Regions from separate parts of the Homo sapiens genome. Here all the other regions are linked to region 1. The links are contacts of gene promoters, found by promoter capture Hi-C in human tissues and cell types (Jung and others, 2019). All regions are on one chromosome and are shown on one strand. The core of a region is centred on a gene start or on the middle of the fragment in contact, and the rest is flanking DNA. Distances in the headings are between cores, read along the strand shown. Region 1 holds the start of NDUFA7 (NADH:ubiquinone oxidoreductase subunit A7). Region 2 overlaps HNRNPM (heterogeneous nuclear ribonucleoprotein M). Region 3 overlaps HNRNPM (heterogeneous nuclear ribonucleoprotein M).

Region 1 (4,651 bases), core at 1,654-4,153:
TCACTCTGTAACCCGGGTTGGGGTGTAGTGGTGTGATCAGAGCTCACTGCAGCCACAAACTCCTGAGCTCAAGGGATCCTTCTGCCTCAGCATCCTCAAGTGCTGGGATTACAGGTGTGAAACCAGAGCGCCTGGCAGGGGCTGGGATTTGATGTGAAAGCAGCAAAACCCCAGTGAGGTTGACACTACCCCAGGTCATGAGACTGAGTCCTCAAGGGGGGAAGTAACCTAAGGTCACAGAGACCTAGCTAAGACCTTTCATGCATGCCCCTGGGCTCCTGTTACCTACTGCCAGGGAGGCTCTTATCAAAGGAAAAAGGAGCCCTTTGGCATCAGGCAGGGTGGGGAAGGGGGTCCAGAGCTTCAGAACTGGAGACTGGGTGAGTTTGCAGAACACATTAACCCCCAACACCACTATACTCTGATGGCCAAGTGCCAGGATGTTTTAGCACTTTCATAATCCAAGTTATCTAATCAGCCCACTCATCCTGTACAGGTTGACCCCAATTTACCATGGCTCCACTTACCATTTTTTATTTATTTTTGAGATGGAGTCTTCCTCTGTCACCGAGGCTAGAGTGCAGTGGGGCGACTGCAGCTCACTGCAACCTCCACCTCTGGGGTTCAAGCGATTCTTCTGCCTCAGCCTCTCAAGTAGTTGGGACTACAGGCACGTGCTACCATGCCCAGCTAATTTTTTTTTTTCATTTGAAGACAAGAGTCTCGTTCTGTCACCCAGGCTGGAGTGCAGCGGCACAATCTCAGTTCACTGCAACCTCCACCTCCCAGGTTCAAGAAATTCTCCTGCCTCAGCCTCCCAAGTAGCTGGGATTACAACAGCTGTGAGCCATCGCGCCTGGCACAACTTACAATTTTTTGACTTCATGATAGCATAAAAGCAATGTGTGCTTAGTAAAAACCACACTTCAGCAGAGTATTCAATAAATTACATAAGACATTCAATACTTTATTAAAACAGGCTTCGTGTTAGACGAGTTTCCCCAACTACAGGCTAAGGCGTTCTGAACAAGCTTAAGATGGACCATGCTAAGCTGTGATGTTTGGGAGATTAGGTGTATTAAACACATTTCAACTTGCAATACTTTCAACCTATGATGTACTCACCGGAATGTAACCCATTGTAAACTGAGGAACACCTGTACTCACCCCACTGGAAGGGATGTGGGAGGAAGGTCAAGCGCCTCTTCCAGGTCAGAAGGGGCAGAGGTTGGATACAAACCAGGCAGCCTGGGTCCATGGTAAAAGAACCTCCACTAAGTGAGGCTGGGGCTGAATCCCACGTTTCCTGCCTCAAGGAGATTGCAGCAGGCCCCCCTCTTTTCCCCTCTCTCCAGAGCGAGTCACCCCCTGGCTCCCAGACAGCCACACCTGGTGAAGGAGAATGCGGTGACAATGGAGAGAACCCCCAGGTTCAGTAAGCTGCCTCGTCTGGCTCACTACACCTAGCTGTGGGGAGATCTCCTCGTCAGTCACCTCAGCCTTTGGCGCACAGAAGGGTCCAGGGTCCCCTGCTCAGAGGCTAACACTGGCCGAAGAGAAAGGCAATTTCAGTTGGGGTGACTGTGGCAGGAAGGGGCTCACTCTGGCCCCACCAAGGTGAGGTGGGGACCAAGTGATAGAGCCCTGATCCACCCACTCTCTGAAACTTCTTTGCTAATAAAACATTCCTACTACGCTTGTGTTTTGTTTGGGGTAGAGGGTGCAATCGACAAACACGACCCCCCGCCTCAAAAAGGAAAAGCTTCGTTTGGCAAGACCGCACGGCCAGGATTTCCAGAGTGCGGAGGATCGGTGACCGCCTGGGAGCCACTCAAGAAACCTGGAGAAACCCTAGTCGTATAACCCAGACAAGAACCTGAGTTAACTTGAAACACAAACGCTTTATTTAAAGGAGCATCTCAGTTACGTGTGGCGGACAAAAAAAAGGAGCAGACTGTGACAGACCATTCCCATCGGCCAAGTGGTCGAACCCGACATCCAAGACCCTGTAAACAGACCCAAACATGAGATGTTGACAGGCCCCGCAGCAATTGGCAAACTCCCGCCTCCCTCTTGTCAGTCTCTGTATGTAGACTCTGCCTCCCAAACCCTCTCACCCTGGGCTTAACGAAGCCTCCCTACCACCAACCAAAGGTCTATCAAAGGGGTGTCCTCTTTGCACCCACCAGCGAGCAGCCAAGCTCAGCGCAACCTCCGGGCTTCTCGCTCTGACTCCAAAAGGGTGAGCACGTCGCCCTCGCGCACGGGGCCTTTTACATTGCGGATGATGGATCGGCTCGTGTCGTCCATGAATTCCACGCGCACCTACGGGTCCCCACCGGAGTGGAGGAAGAAGTAAGGGCGGGCCGCGGAAAGGCACCGCGGAGTGGGAAGCAGATATGAATTCAGAGAACGTGTCGGGGCCAGAATACAGATCGTTAAAGGGAACCATCAGAACCCCGTGATGAAATGAGAATCGGCTCCCGGATTCCGGCTGGCAGGGGTTAGGGCAGGGTAGAGGTCACATCAGGGTTTAGGTCGCCGGCAGTCGGCCAAATGCCCCCACCCGATTACCTGCGTGCACTGTCCCTGAGAACCGGTCCTGCCCAGGACCTTGGTGACCTGGAGGAAAGAAGCTGGGTTCAGACCCGGCCCGTTTGGCTCCTCTAATCCCTCCCCCTGCCCCCAAATTCGGGCCCCCACCTCACCCTGGCCAGCTTGATAGGCTGCACACGGCTGGTGTCCATGATGGCGGCGCGGCGGCGGTCTGGCGGAGAGGAGTCACGTGCTTCGGGGAGAGCCTTTATAGGACGTTCTAGCACCGCCCACTCCCGTCTCGCGATACCACGCCGCGTCTTTCCCAGCAGCCCCAGCGGTGGAGACGTCACCGGCTGCGCCCTTCAGTATCGCGGACGGAAGATGGCGTCCGCCACCCGTCTCATCCAGCGGCTGCGGAACTGGGCGTCCGGGGTGCGCGGGGCGGACAGGGCTGCACCATGGGGGGCTTCGGGCTCCGTGTGTCCGGGACCCGCTCCTGCTCCTCACCTCCCTCCTAAGCCGGGACCCTTCGCTCTCCCCGAATCTCCCTGGGAACCCCCAGCTAGTCACCCCTTCAGCCCGGGACCCTCTCCTGGCCTGGGAACCACTCAGGCCTGGGATTTCCCCAGTCCCCGACCTTCTTAGCCTTGGATCTGTGGGCCCGGACTCTGGCTTTGCTCTTCACCTGCAGGACCCACATCCGTTTCCCCGAGTGTTCATCCCCTGCCTTCCCTTAAAATGCGCATCCCCGGACCATCCCTGGTCCCTTGCCCTCTCCTTTCCTCTCTCCTGGGGTGCCTTGCAGGCCGACCTCTCCTCTCCTCTTCCCACAGCATGACCTGCAGGGGAAGCTGCAGCTACGCTACCAGGAGATCTCCAAGCGGTGAGCAGGCCCCGCTCGCTGCCCAGCCTCTGGCTCTGTCCTTTCTCCACCAAAAACGAAATCTGTGTTCCTTTAGACCCCTGAAACGGAGGGCTGACATCCTGCCACCAGTCCCCTGCCAGGCTGTGGAGGCAGAGGTTTGCCTTTAACCTTGCTGAACTCCGGAGGACAGCCCTCCTGAAACAGCGAGGCCGGGCGTGCATTCTGACTGGCAATCAGGCTAGATTTGCAGTGCTCAGCGTGGCCATGTTAGTCAGTGTTATCCCCAAGCTACAGATGAAAAAAGAGGTCCAGAGAGGCGAAATCATTTGCCTCAAGTCACTCAGAAGCTAAAAAGTGGCAGCGGGGACTTGAACCCAGAAGTGTCCTGATTTCAGACTCATTTATATTAAAATATTAGTTGATATTTACAAGCCCCCGTCATGTATGACCTCAGCCTTGGGTTTAACTTTGTGAACCAGGAAAGTTCTTATCCACATTCTTTCATGGACGCCACATTCTAGGGAGAAGCATAGTAGGGAAACAAACACAGCAGGTAGTATTGTTCTGGAATGCTTTGAAGACAAAACAAAATAAGTGGAAGCTGGAGGGTGGCTACGTAAAGTCAGATGATTGGGAAAGATCTTTCTTTGGAAATTGACAGTTGAGTCCCCTGAATGATGGGAAGGACCCATTCAAAGAATAATTATTGAAAAAACATTCTGACCGGGCGCGGTGGCTCACGCTTGTGATCCCAGCACTTGGGGAGGCTGAGGCAGGCGGATCACGAGGTCAGGAGTTTGAGACCAGCCTGGCCAACACAGTGAAACACAGTAAAACCCCCTCTCTACTAGAAATACAAAAATTAGCCGGGCGTGGTGGCGCGCGCGGGTAGTCCCAGCTACTCGGGAGGTTGAGGCAGGAGAATCGCTTGAACACAGGAGGTGGATATTGCAGTGAGCTGAGATCGCACCACTGCACTCCAGCCTGGGTGACAGAACAACACTCTGTCTCAAAAAAATAAAAAAGAAAAAACATTCTGAGCAGAGGGAACAGGAAGGGCTAAGAGTGTCAGGCTGGACAGAGCCTGAGTGGAAGGAGGCCAGTATGGATGGAACCCATTGAGGGAAAGGGATAATGGTATAATCTATGAAGTCAAAGGGTAGGCAGAGGTAAGGCAGTCATTGAGGATTATAATGAAAGGAAGAAAAATAGCATTAAAATAATGAAATTTATGTAAATGCCTATATG
Region 2 (4,276 bases), core at 1,408-3,907, 150 kb before region 1:
CCAGACCAGGCCCCCTCAACCCGCCTGGTGGAGGTCACCCCAGCACAGCACACACAGGCCTCTCACCCTCATCCATCTTTCTTCTCCAGGAGAGCTTTACCTGCGCCAGTGATTCCCTGAGTCGTCCCACCGCTGTATGCACTGAGGTTCTTGCTTCCAGCCTCTGGCTTATCTATGACTCTGCACTAATATTTGCCACTTCTACCTATGTGGTAGCCCATCAACTAGCCTTCCCTGTCACGAGACAGATTTTCACCTGGGTGTCACAAATAGCTGATCCCTTTCCCCTCTGCATACAAATTATTTGTTCAAGACACTTCACATACCATAAAACTCAAAGTATTCGGTGGTTTTTAGTATATTCAGAGATATGCAACTATCACTACCATTTAATTCCAGAACATTTTCATCACCCAAAAAAGAAATCCAACCTTATTAGCAGTCCCGTCCCTACTTACTCCTTCCCGGCCTCAGGCAACCACTAATCTACTTTCTGCCTTTATGCATTTATCTATGCGGAGCATTTCCTGTAGATGAAATCGAGGTTCATCCACACTGCAGCATGTGTCTTTCATCCTGCTGCAAACATCTGCGTGCGAATTTCTGTGCAGATGTCTAGTGTGCACTGCTAGCCCACATGGGACTAACCAGTATCTTCTGAATTAGAGTGCAGCCTGGTTTTCATTCCCTTCACAGGTTCTGATTCTTCCTTCCCCAGGACACTTTCAAAATGCCTAACCACATCCTCTACATCCTGGTATTACAATCCTAGGATTACCATGAGGTAATCCTAACAATATCCTCAAGTTGTGAATCTCTGCTCATTTCTCACCCTGAAAAATCTATAGAAAAGAACTGGCCAAGAGAACTGAGGGCTAACCTGGCACAGGTTCAAGTGAAACCATATGGTAATTTTCTGTTTATTAGTGTAACTCCAATTCAAACTCTCAGCCCTAATCACTGAAACACTTACGGGGAAGTTGTTGTGGACGCTCAGGAGGGAAGAAATCTCCTTTTGGTAAGGCCCTCTCATCCTGAAAGAGAAAGAAAACAAACAAATCTCAGTATCCAGTGCAGCAGTGTTTGCAACAGCAAAAGACTGAAATGGCCCCCCATCAAGAGAGGACCAGCTAAACACATTATCCACGCCATGGAGTAATACGCAAGGGTAGAAAGGCATGCGGAGCATGCTTCCTATTTTATGTCAAGGGAAAAGACACATGGATATTATTGTGGGGGATGATGGGGACCTGGGCAAGAAGTCCAAGTAGGACTCACACTATCTTCACACTACCTTTTCATGCCTTTTGACTTTTGAGTCACGTGAATCTATCATCTATTCAAAAAACTTACCTACTCTATTTAGAGTAATGAAAAAATTGCTTTATAGTTTATCTTTTTCCTGAATTTGAGTCCCAACTAGACTGCCCTCAGCATGTTCCAGTCATGCCTGTAGTAATTATTATCTTTGGCACAGTTACGGCAGAGCAAATGTTTATTAAGATTGAAGTGCTCCAACAGACCTTTAAAAGCTGTCTGAATCAATGACTTAATTATGTTCACAACAGATTTGATGCTAACCAAACATTATACTGTAATACTTTGAAAAACTGGAACCCCACATATATAACCATTCTTTGAAACGGATCACTTGCTCAACCAGGATACCCAGGTGACTTCCTGAATGCGCCATGAACAGTCAACTGTGCAAAAGGAAAAATATCTAATGCAGTCAAGAGCTGCCATGAGCAAAATGTTTTTTTTTCTTCTTTTTTTTTCTTGAGACAGAGTCTCACTCTGTTGCCCAGGCTGGAGTGCAGTGGCACGATCTCGGCTCACTGCAGCCTCTGCCTCCCACGTTCAAGTGATTCTCCTGCCTCAGCCTCCCGAGTAGCTGGACTACAGGCGCGTGCCACCACGCCCGGCTAATTTTTGTATTTTTAGTAGAGACGGAGGAGTTCCACCACGTTGGTCAGGCTGGTGTCGAACTGCTGACCTCATGATCCGCCTGCCTCAGACTCCCAAAGTGCTGGGATTACAGGCGTGAACCACCACGCCTGACCAGCAAAATGTTATTTCTCTCACAATTTTGCTCAACATACTGCACCCTATTTAACTTAGACTAATCCACAAATATTTCATAGTGGCTATATGTACACTCTTATTAATTCCATGTTTTTGCTAGACTTGAGTATATCACAGAGAAAGATCCTACTGACTTACCATCTTGACGTGCATTGGTCTATCAAATAGCAGCTGGCCATTGAACATAGCTGGTATTACAATTAAGGCTATTTCTTGCAATTCTAAAAATGTGCACAAGAGAAATACAAAAAGAAAGAAAAATACTCCAACTGCTACCAGTCCCTCTAAGTGATGAATTTATGAGCAATTTCAATTCTTCATTATACTTTCAACAATAAACATAAAAGGAACAATAAATAAAGCTGGCGGGGAGGACAAGACAACTTCCGCTTATTCCTTAGGTGTGAAGCTTCATTCGTAACCTTACAATTTCACCAAACCATCCTCTTAAGCAGTGGCATCAAGGTTCTCTGAATGTGACCAATGGGCCAGGCATCTACCACTATCTAAACTGAAGGACCATGTTTTCTGGGTAAGACATGCAGTGACGGTCTTGTCTGAGTTGTATGAATGTGCTCCTGTGGGGTACTCTCCAAGGGATTAAAAACTCTAGGCTAAGCCTAGGGTCAAGGAGAAGTGGCCTCTTCCAAAATGATGTCTACTCACTGGAAAGAGTGAGGTCCTATAAGGATGTATTACACATGAAACAACAACCCCACTTTCTCTCTAGTAGCACATTCTTTGGACTTCCTCCTTCAAACCTAGACTCTTCTGAAAAGAAAACAGTAGAAAGACTCATGGGCATATGCCCATGTTGTAACCATCCCCTCTATCCACACTGTATTGAATCAATTCCACCCCCAGAGAACCTTTTTTTTTTTTTTTTTTTTTTTTGAGACTGAGTCTCACTCTATCACCCAGGCTGGTGGTGTGCAGTGGCGCAATCTCGGCTCACTGCAACCTCCACCTCCCGGGTTCAAGCGATTCTTGTGCCTCAGCCTCCCGAGTAGCTGGGATTACAGGCACCCACCACTGCGCCCAGCTAATTTTTGCATTTTTTAGTAGAGCCGGGGTTTCACCATGTTGGCCAGGCTGGTCTCGAACTGACCTCAAGTGATCCGCCCGCCTTGGCCTCCCGAAGTGCTGGGATTACAGGCGTGAGCCACCGTGACCGGTCCGGCCCAGAGAACCTCTTAATTCCACAGTAATGCACTCCCCCTAGTCACATAAAAAACATGAATACACACAGTCACCTCTTCCTCACACAAACCTACATTACTAACACAGCAATTTAGGTCAAACTGTTCATAAGTTGAATTCCTGCAGAAGGATACATATAGCTTGCACAGCTTCAATGGACTGTTCAAAAGTAACAGTGCCTATTCCACGACTTTTTCCATCTTTATCTTCAAGAATGTCTGCTCGGACCACCACACCAGCCATACTAAATACTTCCTTCAGTTTCTTCCAGCCAACTTTATAATCCAGCTAATCGAGAGAGAACGGGGTAAAAACCTCAATGTAAACATCTTAAGAAACACAACATTTTTACTACATGAATGATACATGCTTTGGTTGGAAAAAAGTATTAGGAAATAATGTCACAAAAACTAATCAACTGCAATGGAAATTTTAAAATAGGATTATAAAGCCTGGCCTTCACTGTAAATAAACTGTACCTATAGTAAATATATTGTCTCTTTTCTCAGAAACTTAAGTCACCTCATACTTCAAATTAATACTCATTTTCTGAACATTTTTAAAAAATTGTTTCCCTGATAAGCTTTACCACTCCCCACCCCACCCAACCTACTTTATTCTAAAAATATTTCCCCTTGCAGATGGTGGAGGTATTATCATTCACCCCAGACACAACAAGAGGAAGGTGTCAGTGCACTTCTGCTCGTACAGTCTTACTCTGCACCAAAACTGCATAAAATAAACCAACGGAGAATGCAGACTCGGTTACTGCTTGCGGAAACACCTGCGAAACTCAGGAATCACAGCCCCAACGAGACCACGGTCAAGCCTGTGACTTAGGAATGCAGACAAAGCCCGCCTATAAGGCTGATTTTTAAAGAAATCAAGAACAAAACCCTTCTTTACATTTTTCTTCTCAAATGTGAGAATTACTTTTATAACATATTGACAAGGTCATTTCATAAAGTTCTGATTTTCTACTTTAGACGAT
Region 3 (4,459 bases), core at 1,579-4,078, 160 kb before region 1:
AGGTGTGGTCCCCTTTGAAGGGCGCCACCTCTGACTTCATCCTGCTGATCTTTGCCTCCCCTGTCCCCTCATGCTCACCACCACCAAGAAGTTCCCCAAGAGCCACTTACATTTCTCACAAATATCTGGCAGGCCTTCCTGGCCACCCCAGGAGCATGGCCTCCAGCTCCACCAAAGGAACCTGCGAAGCTTCCTCCGAAGTTGCCACGCTCCATCTCGATGGCACGGTCAAAGCTGGCACCGCCACCGCCACCCATGGCCAGGCCCATGCGCTCAATGCCAGCGCCCAGGGCCGGGCCCATGGCAGGGCCCATGCGCTCGAGGCTGTTGGCACCCATGCGCTCCAGGCCCATGCGCTCGAGGCTGTTGGCGCCCATGCGCTCCAGGCCCATCCGCTCCAGATTGTTGGCGCCCATGCGCTCCAGGCCGGTGGCCATGCGATCCATCACGGGGCCCATGCGCTCCAGGCCAGCTCCCATACCTGCGGGCACCATGCGCTCCATGCTCAGGCCCATGCGCTCGATGGCAGGGCCCATGCGCTCCACGCCAGAGCCCATGCGCTCAATGGTCTGGCCCACACGGTCGATGGGAGCGGCCATGCGCTCAAGGCCGAAGCCCATGCCGGCACCCATGCGCTCCACGCCAGAGCCAATGCGCTCCATGGTCTGGCCCATGCGCTCAATGCTGGAGGCCATGTGGTCGAGGCCCAGCGGGCCCATGCGCTCAATGCCGGAGCCCATGCGCTCCACGGAGCCCATGCGGTCCATGACCAGGCCCATGCGCTCGATCTCGGAGCCCACGCGATCCATGCCGTGGCCCAGGCCCGCGCCCATGCGCTCCATGCCGGCACCCCCGAGGCGGTCAATGCCAGGACCCATCCTCTCGATCCCAGGGACGCTTCCTCCACCTCCACCTGAAACAGGGACACAAAACACAGGTGGGTGTCAAGAACTTGAGTGTGCGTGTGCACAACACGCCAGACCACTTCAGCTCATGGGCATGGATCAGGGGTAAAGGCCCACCATAATTTACCATTAAGACACCCCTCAAATGTTGACAACAGCTACAGCTGTGTGGTGGGCACATGGGGGCCTCCCAGCATTCTCTCTGCTCTATGCCACAGCTGAGATTTCCATAACACAACTTCTAAAGAACACCCCTGTATGTGTGTCTGTGAGGTGCTAGTGTCTGTGACAAGCTTTGTGAACCATGGACGTCAATTCCTGAGACATCTGAGGTTTCTCCATCAGCAGACACTGAGAAATGCTCCAGGGGGAGGCATGGACACCCCCCACTCGGGGGGCCACCCAGGGTAATGAACAGGAGTTATGTGGAGACAAGTCGGAGTCACTCCCACCTTCCCCTCCCAGCCTGTCCCTCTAGGATGCTCTGCTGGGGGCCACTCTGGCTGCATTTCCTCAGCGCTCCCAGGGCACAGAGAAAGGATTTTCGGCCACACCATCAAGCAGAGGTCAAAAAAACACACACCGAGAGATCCTCTGTGTACAAATGCACACAGCTGGCCACTTTTGGGGACCCTATTGTCAGGGAAACCAAATGACTTGCTGGCTTTGGAAAGAAGATGTTGATGGCACTGCAGAGTGGGCTCTGGTAGCGGCTGGGGGTCAGTCAGCAGAACGAAGGGACGCCCCCACCCGTGGTGCTTGCAACTCTGGAAAGCAGGGTCTGGCTCCGTCAGCAAGGCCACCCCTTTCCACATGCCGAGTTTGGGGCTCCTCCCCGAAACCCTGTCGCTTGCCTCTGAGAGTGGCCATCAGCCCAGAGCCAGCCTGTGACCGACCCAAGCAGCCTAGTCAAAGATACCAATTCAAGAGGAAACTGGGCAGTTTCTCTAACTGGCTCTGTAACTGGCCACACCGCGCCTGCTTCTCTAGCTGCACAGCACACAGTGAGCGGCCAAAGCAGGCCCGACTCTAAGAATGTGTGACTTTCAGAGGGGAGACGTCTCAGAACTTCCCCACAGTATAAGGAACCTAGCGAGAATGGGCACTTTGCCCAAAGGCATCAGAAATGAGGTGGGGCAGCTGGGTGTGGTGGCTCATGCCTGTAATCCCAGTACTTTGGGAGGCCAAGGCGGGCGGAACAAGGTCAGGAGTTCGCGACCAGCCTGGCCAACATGGTGAAACCCCATCTCTACTAAAATTGCAAAAATTAGCTGGGTATGGTGGCGTGCGCCCGTAGTCCCAGCTACTTGGGAGGCTGAGGCAGGAGAATCGCTTGAACCCAGGAGACGGAGGTCACAGTGAGCCGAGATCGTGCCACTGCACTCTAGCCTGGGCGACAGAGTGAGACTCCGTCTCTCAAAAAAAAAAAAAAAAAAAGAAATGGGAGGAAATGGTACCAGCGTGGAGCTCCAGAGCCAGCCCAACACAGAAGTCAGGAGGTGAGATGCCAAGATACTCAGAGGGAAAATCAGGCTGAAAAAGTACATTTGGGCCAGGTGTGGTGGCTCACATCTGTCATCCCAGCACTCTGGAGGTATGCAGGTCACTTGAGGCCAGGAGTTTGAGATAAGCCTGGGTAACATGTCAAAATGCCATCTCTACAAAAAAAATCAAAAAATTAGCCAAACCAGGTGGCACACGCCTGTAGTCCCAGCTACTTGGGAGGCTAAAGTGGGAGAATCGCTTAGGCCTGGGAAGTTGAGGCCGCAGTGAGCAGAGACTGCACCACGGCACTCCAGCCTGGGAGACAGAGCGAGACTGTCTCCAAAAATGCTCAAAAAGTACATTTTGTTCTCAGTATCCATAAAGCTGTGTATGAATGAAAGATTCAGAACAAAATGTTTCCGGCAGTCATCACTGGGCGATGGGGTTTCAGACCATACTTTCTTCATATTTTCCTAATGAGTACATTTATCTATTTTACAAGCATTTATTACTTGTTGGGTGGTGTGCTTTCAGTCTTATCATCAAGTCTAAGGAAAATATATTTACTTTTAGGAATTTATAATGTGGAAAACAAAACCCCCAAAAGAGAGGTACTCTAACAATGAAGATGGTCGGCCTGTGCACAGCACGTGCGGAAGCACTCTTTCACATGCATTCACTCTCCACAGCATCCCTGAGGCAGGTACTATTACACCCCCATTTTACAAATGAGTGCTATGAGAAACAGAGAGGTTCAGTGACTTGCCAAACGTCACACAGCTAGAAAAAGGCAGAGCTGCTCCCACCCCGGGCAGTCTGTGTCAGAACCCGCACTTCTCACCACTAAGCTCTACAGTCCCCAGCGATAACAGCCTGTTCTAAAAAAACAAAACATCAAACTAAGCGGTTCCTACCTCCTCCCTGCTTTGCAATGATCTCTCCTCTCTTCAGTGCATTACTTAGGATTTCTAAGGAAATCAGGAAGAAAAAAAAATTAGCCAAATTCCTCTATGGCAATAGAAATGTGCTCATTACAGATTCCAGAGTAGAAATACTACTAATAAAAATGACAAGATAAAGGGAAAGGGGTTTGAGAAACACACGCACAGACAAGATCATTTTACAGAGAACTAGGAGAGTCCTTGATGCTGGGTCACGATGCCAAGACCCCACGTAGCTCCAGAGTCTGAGGCCCAGCGTGCGGGGTCACCTGCGAATGCGCCCAGCAGAGATAGGAGTCATATGCATTCATGAACTGAGAGCCAGAGCAAGAAGAGGGCCATCGGGTCTCGCTCAGCGGCAGTTTTCTAAAGCTGGTCCAGGCTCTCAGGACTGAGGCTTCCTTGCCTCCCCTGAGCTGGAAAGTAAGCCCCCACCCCCACCCCAGCCAACTTCTTGTTCAGAAGACCGCCCAGCATCACCCACTTGGAGCCCACATTTATCCACCCAGAGGCACCTCTCATTATCATAGAGCAAATTAAAGCTGCAGCTCCACGGACAACCTCAACGCTAACAAATGAGCTCTGCGCGGAAATCCTTGAGCATGCCAGCCTTGCCTGAAATGAGCTGGGTGTGCTGTGACTAGGCAACAGATAAGGTTTCAGGAAAATACCTAAATTGCACCCCCCACCAAGTATCCCAAACACAGTGCTGCTGCTCACTTGCCCACGGTGCACCCACACCTCTTTAAGGTTTGTCTGATGCTATCATAGCATTACCTTTCCAAGCTTCTGGTCCATCTTTTGCTATGTAGAAGACACTTGTACCCACCCGCTCTGGTCTCAAAGTATATGCTCAGCAACTTGGACATTAGCCACGAGGCACATTTCGCTTTATGACCACGGCCACAAAGCCATTAAAACCTGTCCCCCGGCCGCGCAGTAGCTCATGCCTGTAATCCCAGCACTTTGGGAGGCCAAGGCGGGTGGATCACCTGAGGTCAGGATCAGCCTGGCCAACATGGTGAAACCCCGTCTCTACTAAAAATTAGCCGGGTATGATGGCAGGTGCCTGTAATCCCAGTTACTCAGGAGGCTGAGGCGGGAGAATCGCTTGAACCCTGGAGGCAG

The links. The method cuts DNA at HindIII sites, captures the fragments that hold promoters and counts their contacts. A contact is called where the count stands out against the background at its distance.
Region 2: a fragment that was not itself captured here is called in contact with the fragment with the promoter of NDUFA7 in region 1 in 3 of the 25 tissues and cell types used here (dorsolateral prefrontal cortex, mesenchymal stem cells and pancreas).
Region 3: a contact is called between a fragment that was not itself captured here and the fragment with the promoter of NDUFA7 in region 1, in 7 of the 25 tissues and cell types used here (aorta, bladder, dorsolateral prefrontal cortex and 4 more).

Annotation. Positions count from the first base shown.
Region 1 is chr19:8,319,627-8,324,277 of GRCh38, reverse strand. NDUFA7 (NADH:ubiquinone oxidoreductase subunit A7) reads left to right here and starts at 2,903. Exons shown (of 4, transcript NM_005001.5): 1 at 2,903-2,970; 2 at 3,372-3,421. The coding sequence starts at 2,920. It overlaps RPS28 (ribosomal protein S28), which reads right to left and starts at 2,782. Exons shown (of 4, transcript NM_001031.5): 1 at 2,709-2,782; 2 at 2,575-2,622; 3 at 2,187-2,325; 4 at 938-2,006. The coding sequence starts at 2,747. The coding sequence ends at 2,203. It overlaps KANK3 (KN motif and ankyrin repeat domains 3), which reads left to right. Exons shown (of 11, transcript NM_198471.3): 11 at 1,356-1,694. The coding sequence ends at 1,439. RefSeq lists enhancers at 914-1,879, 1,880-2,847, 2,754-2,993, 2,848-3,815, 3,816-4,651. The HindIII fragment of the contact is 5,252 bases long and covers 1,398-4,651 here.
Region 2 is chr19:8,465,532-8,469,807 of GRCh38, reverse strand. It overlaps HNRNPM (heterogeneous nuclear ribonucleoprotein M), which reads right to left. Exons shown (of 16, transcript NM_005968.5): 7 at 3,420-3,573; 8 at 2,224-2,273; 9 at 974-1,034. Among named protein-coding and RNA genes, the nearest start is that of HNRNPM, 23 kb to the right of the region's middle. The HindIII fragment of the contact is 3,658 bases long and covers 829-4,276 here.
Region 3 is chr19:8,482,057-8,486,515 of GRCh38, reverse strand. HNRNPM (heterogeneous nuclear ribonucleoprotein M) reads right to left here. Exons shown (of 16, transcript NM_005968.5): 13 at 3,305-3,358; 14 at 111-913. Among named protein-coding and RNA genes, the nearest start is that of PRAM1, 18 kb to the left of the region's middle. The HindIII fragment of the contact is 4,267 bases long and covers 695-4,459 here.